2 separate regions of the Homo sapiens genome follow, and region 1 is linked to region 2. The links are contacts of gene promoters, found by promoter capture Hi-C in human tissues and cell types (Jung and others, 2019). All regions are on one chromosome and are shown on one strand. The core of a region is centred on a gene start or on the middle of the fragment in contact, and the rest is flanking DNA. Distances in the headings are between cores, read along the strand shown.

Region 1 (5,826 bases), core at 2,290-4,789, 48 kb before region 2:
ATTTTGTAATTTTAGTAGAGACGGGGTTTCTCCATGTTGGTCAGGCTGGTCTGAAACTCCTGACCTCAAGTGATCCTCCTGCCTCGGCCTCCCAAAGTGCTGGGATTACAGGCGTGAGCCACTGTGCCTGGCCTGTTTTTTGTTTTTTTGTGGTTTTTTTTTTTTTTTTTTTTTTTTTTGAGACAGTCTTGCTCTGTTGCCCAGGCTGGAGTGCAGTGGTGTGATCTTGGCTCACTGCAAGCTCCTCCTCCCAGGTTCACACCATTCTCCTGCCTCATTCTCCCAAGTAGCTGGGACTACAGGTGCCTGCCACCATGCCCGGCTAATTTTTTGTATTTTTAGTAGAGACAGGGTTTCACTGTGTTAGCCAGGATGGTCTCGATCTCCTGACCTCGTGATCTGCCCGCCTCAGCCTCCCAAAGTGCTGGGATTACAGGTGTGAGCCACCATGCCTGGCTTGTTTTTTGTTTTTGAGACAGAGTCTCACTCTGTCACCCAGGCTGGAGTGCAGTGGCACAATCTCCACTCACTGCAGCGTTCAGGTAATTCTCCCTGCCTCAGCCTCCCGAGTAGCTGGGATTACAGGCGTGCACCACCATGCCCGGCTAATTTTTGTATTTTTAGTAGAGACGGGGTTTCGCCACGTTGTCCAGGCTGGTCTCAAACTCCTAACCTCAAGTGATCCACCCGCCTTGGCCTCCCAAAGTGCTAGGATTACAGACGTGAGCTACCACGCCCGGCTGCTTTTATATACTATTAACATTAGAAACTATTAGTACTTGCAGGTGAGTAGTCTGGAAAAAAAAAGAAAAGAAACTGTAGCACACACACTCCCTTCAACTCCCCATATCAGGAACACAGGATATGAACACCATAGTAACTAGAGAGGGATTCATTTCTGATCCACTCCACCTGACATAGATATTATAAGTCCATTAACAATTTTTATTTAATTATTTATTTATTTTGAGACAGAGTTTCACTCTGTTGCTTAGGCTGGAGTGCAGTAGCATGATCTCGCCTCACTGCAACCTCCACCTCCCAAGTACAAGTGATTCTCCTGCCTCAGCCTCCTGAGTACCTGAGATTACAGGCATGCGCCACCATGCCTGGCTACTTTTTGTATTTTTAGTAGAGATGGAGTTTCGTTATGTTGACCAGGCTGGTCTCAAACTCCTAACCTCAGGTAATCTGCCCGTCTTGGTCTCCCAAAGTGCTGGGATTACAGGTATGAGCCACCGCGTCCAGCCGATATAAGTCCATTTAAATATATTCACAGTTAGGATAAAACATAATTCTAACTTTTGATAAGGTGTAAGAGTATGAATAGTTTCTACAGATATTCTTGGGCTAAAAGCTAAATGGCTCTGTTGTTTTTAGAATTCAAAAAACAAATTATCACTTATATGGGTCGAGTAAGTTTCACTGCCTCTGATTTTGAGACTTTTTTTTTCTTTTCCTGTTTTATTTTTTCCTTTATTTTGGCTTTGGTTCTCTGATTCCATGTGAAGTAGAGGAAGGAGCACTTTACTAGAAGGTGGAAGACCTGGATGTTATTTCATGCTAATTTAATATTATAAGTTCTTTTCCCCAAACTTCATGTCATTTTACCAGAGCCAAAATTAGAAATTTCAAAGTATTTTTATACCTAATATCTAAGCAATATGGAAGATGTGGTAAGTGTAAACTTTGCTACATGCTGAGTCCCTCAGAGTCAGAAACAGGGCTAACATTAGGTTATATCTTCTAGAATATCTAGTTACGTTTTGAGTGCCTGGTTCATTTTGGAGAGGAGTATTGTGGACGATTTTAGACTAATTAGAAGTTAGGCAGACTGTTGATTCGTAGTTGTCATTTATTTGCATGTAATCTCTTCGGGATTATACTGAAGTCTATATGTAAGTAAAAGTCATAATTTGTCTTTGCCAAAAATGAGGAAAACATTTTCTCATTATAGGTGTTTGAAAAACTCCAACTCTTCTATCCAGAGTGCCAACCAGAGCAGATTCTGATGCCTATAAATTCTCAGCTCAAACTCCATACCAACAGGTAAGGAAAAGGGAGAATAAGGAAGTGCCAGGATCTAAGCTTAAGTATTTTCAGTAAAACATTGACATAGAAAGAACACTTTTGCCTTCTAGGAGATTTTTCCCAAATAATTTTTTGTGTGAGGTGAAATTCCCATAATGTAAAACTATTGTAAAGTGTAAAATTCAGTGGCATTTAGTACATTCACAATATTGTGTATTCAGCATCTCTATCTAGTTCCAAATATTTTTATCACCACCAAAGGAGATCCCATACCTGTGAAGCAGTCACTCTTCTTTCTTTCCTCCTCGCAGCCCCTGGCAATCACTAATCTGCTTTCTGTGTACGGTATTAGCTATCCTGAATGTATTTCATATAAATGGAATCATACAGTATGCAACGTTTTGTGTTTTTTGTTTTTTTTTTTTTGTTTTTTTTTTTTTTTTGAGACAGTCTCGCTCTGTTGCCCAGGCCAGCGCACAGTGGCACAATCTCAGCTCACTGCAACCTCCACCTCCCAGGTTCAGGCAATTCTCCTGCCTCAGCCTCCTGAGTAGCTGGGATTACAGGTGCCTGCCACCACACCTGGCTAATTTTTGTATTTTTAGTAGAGATGGGGTTTCACCATGTTGGCCAGGCTGGTCTTGAACTCCTGACCTCAGGCGATCCTCCCGGCTCGGCCTCCCAAAGTGCTGGGATTATAGGTGTGAGCCACCACGCCCAGCCTTGTGTTGGCTTCTTTAAGTTAGCATAATGTTTTTGAGGTTCATCCATGTTGTAGCATGTATCAGTACTTCTTCCTTTTTATGACTGAATAGTATTCCATTATATGGAAATACCACATTTAGTTTATAATTTCATCTCCTAATAGAAATTTGGGGCTGGGCACAGTGGCTCATGCCTGTAATCCCAGGCCTCTGGGAGGCCAATGCAGGTGGATCACCTGAGGTTGGGAGTTCGAGACCAGTCTGATCAACATGGAGAAACCCCAACTCTACTAAAAATACTAAATTAGCCAGGGGTGGTTGCACATGCCTGTAATCCCAGCTACTCAGGAGGCTGAGGCAGGGGAATCACTTGAACCCGGGAGGCGGAGGCTGCAGTGAGCCAAGATCACGCCATTGAACTCCAGCCTGGGCAACAAAAGCGAAACTCCGTCTCAAAAAAGAAAAGAAATTTGGGTTGTTTTCACCTTTTGGCTATTGTGAATAGTGCTGCTATGAATATTCATTTGCAAGTATTTACCTGAATACCTGCTTTCAATTGTTTTGGCTGAATAATTATTTTTTTGAAACGGAGTTTTGCTCTTGTCCCCCAGGCTGCAGTGCAAATGGTGTCATCTCGGCTCACTGCAACCTCAGCCTCCCAGGTTCAAGCCATTCTCCTGCCTCAGCCTCCCGAGAAGCTGGGATTACAGGCACCCGCCATCATGCCCAGCTAAAAATTTTTTTTTTTTTTGTATTTTTAGTAAAGACGGGGTTTCACCATGTTGGCCAAGCTGGTCTTGAACTCCTGACCTCAGGTGATCCTCCCGCCTTGGCCTCCCACAGTGCTGGGATTACAGACATGAGCCACCACACCCGGCCTAAATAATTCTTTAATTATAAATATGTAATAAGATTTGATTTTAAAGAAATAAGCATAATCCAAAGGCAGACTTTTACCTGAGGAACAAATAATTACACACGTGGAGAATGGCAAGCAGTTTTCTCGAGTACATCCCCTAACAGTAATCCTGGAAATTTTTACTCTTTTCTCTCTGGTCAGACAGGACCCCAAAAAGATGCCACTTCCTTTCCTTGTTCCCTAGGGAAGGAGCTGCCTTCGTGAGTTCTCGTGTTCTCAAGTGTTTCCCTAATTCATCCGTCATTGAGGAGGATGGTGAAGGGCTCCTGAAAGCTGGTTCCATTGCAGGTACTGCTGTATTGGAAGTCACTTCTATAGAACCTTTTGGAGTCAACCAAACAACCATAACTGGGGTCCAGGTGAGTTCATGGACTTACTAAAAAAAACAAATAAATAAAAGTCATACCCTGGCCTTAAAAAGCAGAGTTTCTTTTTTAAAAAACTAGAAATTTTCTTATCATGCCATTAAAGAAAAAAAGAAAAAGAAAAGAATTAGAAACTTCTGTATCATGAGAGAACATGAACCAGAAAAAAAAAAAAAAAAAGGAGAAGAAGAAGAAGAAGAAACTCTCTGGGAGTCAGAAATGAACCTATAAGAGGCCAGTCTTGACATGGTTATAAGCCATAAAATTAAAATGAACTTTAGAGCCCTTGTTATAAAACAGATCAGCCTGGCCGGGCACGGTGGCTCACGCCTGTAATCCCAGCACTTTGGGAGGCTGAGGCAGGCGGATCACGAGGTCAGGAGATCGAGACCATCCTGGCTAACACGGTGAAACCCCTTCTCTACTAAAAATACAAAAAATTAGCTGGGCGAGGTGGCGGGCGCCTGTAGTCCCAGCTACTCAGGAGGCTGAGGCAGGAGAATGCCGTGAACCCCGGGGGGCGGAGCCTGCAGTGAGCCAAGATCACGCCACTGCACTCCAACCTGGGCGACAGCAAGACTCCATCTCAAAAAAAAAAAAAAAAAAAAAAAAACAGATCAGCCTAAATTTATATGATTGTCTTCCTAGCAGCTTTGGCAAAAGGACTGGTATCGGAGGAGTGTAGAATGATTGCTATCAAAATTGGCTGGGCTGGGTGACTCACGCCTGTAAGCCCAGCACTTTGGAAGGCTGAGGCAGGAGAATCACTTGAGGCCAAGAGTTTAAGACCAGCCTGAGCAACATAATGAGACCCCTATCTCTACAAAAAATGAAAAAAAAAAAAAAATAGCCGGGCTTGGTGGCACATGTCTGCAGTCCTAGCTGCTTGGGAGGCTGAGGTGGAGGATCACACGAACCTAGGAGTTCGAGGCTGCTTTGTGCTGCAATTGAACTGCTGCACTGCAGCCTGGAAAACAAAGCAACAATCTGTTTCTTTTTAAAAAATTAAGCTTTGCTACAAGAATTAAAAAATTGAGAAAAGACCTCAGAGATAAGTTAGTCTTAACACGAAAAAAAATTTTAGACATTAAACATCTACTATATACTATGTTCGTCATTGTATGTATATTATCTCTTTTAACTACCACAAAAGCCCTATGAGGTAGGCATTATTATCCCCATCTAACTGTTAACTGATAAGAAACCTGAGACCCAGAAAAGTTACATGAGGCTATGAAATGATAAAGCTATGATTCAAACGCGGGCTTCACTTACTGTATCACAGCTCTCTTACAGTGTGAAAACACAATATAGATTGTGTTCCTGATAAGTAATTGATTATTTAACCATAAATATTGAGCACTCTGCATGAAATGGATGAATTATAGTCCTTTCCTCATAAAGCTCCAGCTTCTCTTCACATTCCCACAGCTTTAAAAATTAAAAACCTGGCTGGGCACAGTGGCTCACGCCAATCCCAGCACTTTGGGAGGCCGAGCCGGGTGGATCACGAGGTCAGGAGTTCAAGACCAACCTGGCCAAGATGGTGAAACCCCCATCTCTACTAAAAATACAAAAAAATTAGCCGGGCATTGTGGCGGGCGCCTGTAATCTCAGCTACTCAGGAGGCTGAGGCAGAGAATTGCTTGAACCCAGGAGGCGGAGGTTGCAGTAAGTTGAGATTGCACCACTGCACTCCAGCCTGGGCGAGACAGCAAAATTCCGTCTCAAAAAAAAAAAAATTAAAAACCCATTTCAAGCCGGGCACAGTGGCTCACGCCTATAATTCCAACACTTTGGGAGGCCA
Region 2 (5,279 bases), core at 301-2,800:
TCAAGCGATGAGGAAAAGACTTGCACTTTGTGCCTCCTGGGAAAGAGACTAACGTCTTCAACATACCTTATGGCAGATATTTAATTTCAGAGTAGAGACCCCACTCTGATGCCTGGTAAGGTTATTGGAAGTGAAATATCACAAGATCTTACAGTTTGTTGTGAGATAAGGTAGGATTTGGTGAGGAGTAACAAATACTAGCAGATTTCGGCCCAAACTTCAATTATAGCTAAACATTACTGGAAAAAACCCCACAACCTACTTTATGTAACATATAACTACTCACACACATACACAAAAATAATACACACACAATTTCAGCAAACACAAATAATAATTTAAAGAAACAAATTCAAAATTAGAGCCAGGTATGGTGGCACATGCCTGAAATCCCAGCTACTTGGGAGGATCCCTGAAGACGAGAAGTTCCAGGCTGTAATGCGCTATGATGGCTCCTGTGACTTGCCACTGCACTCCAGTCTGGCAACATAGCCAGAGTCCATCTCGTTCAAAAACAAAAACAAACAAACAAAAAACGGCGAAATGAAGGCTCAGCCCTCATCAGGTTTAGGTGACAGAGCTAGACCCTGTCTAAGAAAAAAAATAAAATTAAATGAAAATTCGTTATCAGACAGTAAAGCATGAACCCACAGTGCTGGTCAAGTCACTGCAGATCTGAGTGTGTATCAAGGTTTAACTCCATAAGATGAAAAGCAGGCAATGAATCTTTGGCCTGGGTGTTGACAGTCTAGGCTCAAGCCTCAGCTTTCCCACTCATTAGCTTGCTGACCTTGGACAAGTCACTTATATTCTCTGAACTTACTCATGAAACGGAGATACATTTCATCTGCCTCTCGCAAGAAAAAGTCCTGGTAAATACACATTAGCATTTCCGTTTTACACAGAACACTGACAGATACTTTCCTAAGATCATGGAGTTAATAACCACCAGAACCTAGACTCAATACTTATGGAACTTCAAATCTCATGCTTTTCTCATTGCACTTATGATTACTCCATTATGTAGGAGCAAGGGAGAGTTGAGAGCATTTGAAGAGGTTATGCAAAGGACCAGCTCTGAGGAGTAGGCTTAGCAAAGTAACATGAGGGAAGGTAACACCGTTCATCTGTGTAGCGGAGTGGGAGCCAAGAGACAAGGAGAAAGTTTCATGTTCGTCATGTGTCTCGGATATTCCGGTTTCTGCAGGGACGAGAACGCGCAGTTTCGCCTCCATCCCTTGACCTCCAACACAGCTTCTCCACTGGATCATCGGTGGCGATGAAGGGGCGGCTGGGGAAGGATGTCAGAGAAACCAGAAGCTTGACGGTGAATCCTCGGGTTTTAAGGAGAGAGCAAAGTCCTGAGAGGGCGACGTATTGTCCCTGCTCACCTAGCCCAGAATGAACAAACACGCGCCAGCCAGGGAGCAGCGAGCCGAGAATTCGGACGAGCCTCTGCAACCGCCATTTGCCGTTCTCGCAAAGACTACCAAGACCACAATGCAACGGGGCGCCGAGCTAATTCCCAGTGAGCAGCAGGCGAGGCGCCACCGACGCGGAAGACTATAAGCCCCAGCGGGCGACGACCGAACGCCCCCGGGAACACCGGGCCCCGAGCTCGGTCCCGCGCCCGAGGATCCTCCACGGGGCTAGATGGCTGCGTCGGGGGCGGGAGCGGAGGTGAGCGGGCGCTAGGGCCGCGAGCCCCCGCCGGCCCTTCCTCCAGCGCCCTGCGGACCCCGCAGAAGGCGCTCGCCTCCCTAGCCCGCAAAAACATATCGATTTTTCTCGCTGTGGCAACGGGGACGTCCTGATAGATCCTCTGCTCCAATAGGCAACTCCGGCCTTCCCTGCCCTGACCTGGAACCTCTGGGAGGGCTGCAGAGTAAGTGCCGCCTCTGCGCTCCGACGGAGGCACGAGGCCTGTGGAGTAGGTCCCTCTGTTCCGACAGGTGCGACACTTGGCGCTCCATGCTTGCGGGTGCCGGGAGGCCTGGCCTCCCCCAGGGCCGCCACCTCTGCTGGTTGCTCTGTGCTTTCACCTTAAAGCTCTGGTAAGGAGGAGGTAAGGGGAGGGAAAAGGAGGTCACTGGAGGACAGGATCGTTCCCGGCCTCGGGGCTGGGGGAGATCTTATCCATGGACAGCGCAGGAGGGGGTGCCCTATTTTCTGGGTTTTGACTTTTGTCCCTTCCCCCAACTCCGCTACAGCCAAGCAGAGGCTCCCGTGCAGGAAGAGAAGCTGTCAGGTGGGTGATTGTCTGGGAACCCGACACGTCCCGTCGTTTGTTTTTGGTTTTAGTATCTTCCCCATATACCAAGAGCACAGGTGGAAAAGGCCGGCACCACATGGAATGAGGGCAAGCGCTGTGCCGGGAAGTTGGATGGGCAGAGCCTGGGAGAAATGTTTTCTGAATGGCCTGGGGCTGGCATTTATCTTTCCTTTCAGCAAGCACCTCAAATTTGCCATGCTGGCTGGTGGAAGAGTTTGTGGTAGCAGAAGAGTGCTCTCCATGCTCTAATTTCCGGGCTGTGAGTATCTATTTCTCTACCCTTTTTTTTTTTAAACATCTAAGCAAACACTTAAGCAACATCTTAACATCCAAGTCTTATTAAGCTGCCTTTGCATCATCTTTTTTTCTTTCTTCTTGCAGTCTCAGTGTATGTCCAAATCTGTACTTGTCTTTCCCCTGAAAATGTGCCCCTTTCTTTCCAAGCTAATGGCAGTATTCAACTGATAACTATGGTTTTTTTGTTTGTTTTTGAGACGGAGTCTCACTCTGTTGCCCAGGCTGGAGTGCAGTGGCGAGATCTCGGCTCACCACAACCTCCGCCTCCCGGGTTCAAGCGATTCTCCTGCCTCAGCCTCCTGAGTAGCTGTGACTAAAGGCGCGTTGCACCATGCCTGGCTAATTTTTGTATTTTTAGTAGACTCGGGTTTCACTGTGTTGGCCAGGCTAGTCTCTAACTCCTTACCTCGTGATCTGCCCGCCTCGGCCTCCCAAAGTGCTGGGATTATAGGCGTGAGCCGCCACACCCGGCCTCAAATAACTATGTTTTATTCACTTTTAGTATAGTAGGCTCTGGAATGGAATGTATCTTTGCCACTCCTAGACTGTTGCCCCTGAAGTGTTCTAACATACATTCGTAATCATGCAACCACCACCTCCACCATCCGCATCAGAACTCTTTCATTAGCTCTCTGTTGCCTACCACTCCAAACCATAGCAGTTGGGCACCTGCACCTTCTGAATGGCAGCCTTTTTGTTTATCCTGTTGCCCCTTCCTAACATGTACTTTGCTCCTTTTCTCCTGGCAGAAAACTACCCCTGAGTGTGGTCCCACAGGATATGTAGAGAAAATCACATGCAGCTCATCTAAGAGAAATGAGTTCAAAAGGTGAGTGCTGTTTCTCTTCTCTGAGATCACCTCCTTTGCTCCTATGACTTTAGATGGATGGTCCCACCTTTTCCCCTGGTCTGGGGGTAGCATGGAATATCTGAAAGAAGAGGGGGCCGGGCTCACACCTATAATCCCAGTACTTAGGGAGGCTGAGGCTAACAGATCACCTGAGGTCAGGAGTTCGAGATCAGCCTGGCCAACGTGGTGAAACCCCATCTCTACTAAAAATACAAAAATTAGCTGGTGTGGTGGGTGCCCATAATCCCAGCTACTTGGGAGGCTGAGGCAGGGAGAATCACTTGAACCCAGGAGGCAGAGGTTAGAGTGAGCCAAGATCATGCCACTGCACTCCAGCCTGGGCAATGGAGCGAGACTGTGTGTCAAAAAAAAAAAAAAAAAAAAGAGGCTGGGAGGGGTGGCTCACGCCTGTAATCCCAGCACTTTGGGAGGCCGAGGCGGGTGGATCACGAGGTTAGGAGTTCAAGACCAGCCTGGCCAAGATGGTGAAACCTCATCTCTCTTAAAGATACAAAAATTAGCTGGGCATGATGGCGGGCACCTGTAATCCCAGCTACTTGGGAGGCTGAAGCAGAAAACTGCTTAAACCCGGGAGGTGGAGGTTGCAGTGAGCCAAGGTCACGCCACTGCACTCCAGTCTGGGTGACAGAGCGAGACACCATCTCAAAAATAATAAGAAAGAAGACGGGATTTGGAGCCAAATTACTTGAACCCAAGTCCCAGCTCTACTCCTCAGCACTATGTTATTGGCCATATTTTCTCATCAGTAAAATTGGTTAATACTAGCTCTGCTTATCCAGAGAATAAATTAAATGATCTATTTGAGAGGGATTTATGTACTATACACACAATAGAAGCCTGGCTCTGATTTCCTCTTGAGTGTATCCTGGCTAGGCTGAAGTAGAAGGGAAATTAGAGGGAGAAGCTGTCTGGCCTTCCTTGGGAATAACTATTCCTTCCTGCCCTCAGCTGCCGCTCAGCTTTGATGGAACAACGCTTATTTTGGAAGTTCGAAGGGGCTGTCGTGTGTGTGGCCCTGATCTTCGCTTGTCTTGTCATCATTCGTCAGCGACAATTGGACAGAAAGGCTCTGGAAAAGGTCCGGAAGCAAATCGAGTCCATATAGCTACATTCCACCCTTGTATCCTGGGTCTTAGAGACCCTATCTCAGACAGTGAAAGTGAAATGGACTGATTTGCACTCTTGGTTCTTTGGAGCCTTGTGGTGGAATCCCCTTTTCCCCATCTTCTTCTTTCAGATCATTAATGAGCAGAATAAAAAGAGTAAAATGGTTTCCTTCCCTTCTGTAACTTGGAGCAGGAAGTCATGGGGGCAGAGAGGGAAAGGAGGTGGTTACTTAAGGCCCCAATCTACCAAGTCTTCCCCACCACTTCTCCCTTGTTTTCCCCCTCTTCTACTACTTATTTCAAACTTCTGGGATACAATTTCAGCTAAAACGTTTATTTCTCACTCAAAACTTATTTCCCCTCAACCCTATACCCAAAGAAGAAATAAAATCACAGATACATAACAGAAGTATTTGAGGTACCCTCTCATATATGCAAACAAATGCAGACTAGGCCTCAGGCAGAGACTAAAGGACATCTCTTGGGGTGTCCTGAAGTGATTTGGACCCCTGAGGGCAGACACCTAAGTAGGAATCCCAGTGGGAAGCAAAGCCATAAGGAAGCCCAGGATTCCTTGTGATCAGGAAGTGGGCCAGGAAGGTCTGTTCCAGCTCACATCTCATCTGCATGCAGCACGGACCGGATGCGCCCACTGGGTCTTGGCTTCCCTCCCATCTTCTCAAGCAGTGTCCTTGTTGAGCCATTTGCATCCTTGGCTCCAGGTGGCTCCCTC

What was found. Contacts are between HindIII fragments. The study calls those that stand out against the background at their distance.
Region 1: a contact is called between a fragment that was not itself captured here and the fragment with the promoter of JTB in region 2, in 1 of the 25 tissues and cell types used here (thymus).

The regions. Positions count from the first base shown.
Region 1 is chr1:154,023,729-154,029,554 of GRCh38, reverse strand. It overlaps NUP210L (nucleoporin 210 like), which reads left to right. Exons shown (of 40, transcript NM_207308.3): 29 at 1,958-2,049; 30 at 3,839-4,013. Among named protein-coding and RNA genes, the nearest start is that of RPS27, 36 kb to the right of the region's middle. The HindIII fragment of the contact is 5,326 bases long and covers 877-5,826 here.
Region 2 is chr1:153,973,945-153,979,223 of GRCh38, reverse strand. JTB (jumping translocation breakpoint) reads left to right here and starts at 1,550. Exons shown (of 5, transcript NM_006694.4): 1 at 1,550-2,054; 2 at 2,211-2,248; 3 at 2,449-2,531; 4 at 3,319-3,398; 5 at 4,389-4,955. The coding sequence starts at 1,972. The coding sequence ends at 4,545. It overlaps JTB-DT (JTB divergent transcript), which reads right to left and starts at 1,481. Exons shown (of 1, transcript NR_186180.1): 1 at 64-1,481. CREB3L4 (cAMP responsive element binding protein 3 like 4) reads right to left here. Exons shown (of 10, transcript NM_001255978.2): 10 at 4,865-5,279. The coding sequence ends at 5,159. RefSeq lists silencers at 1,077-1,371, 1,660-1,709 and enhancers at 1,380-1,429, 1,431-2,079, 2,729-3,378. The HindIII fragment of the contact is 6,167 bases long and covers 1-5,279 here.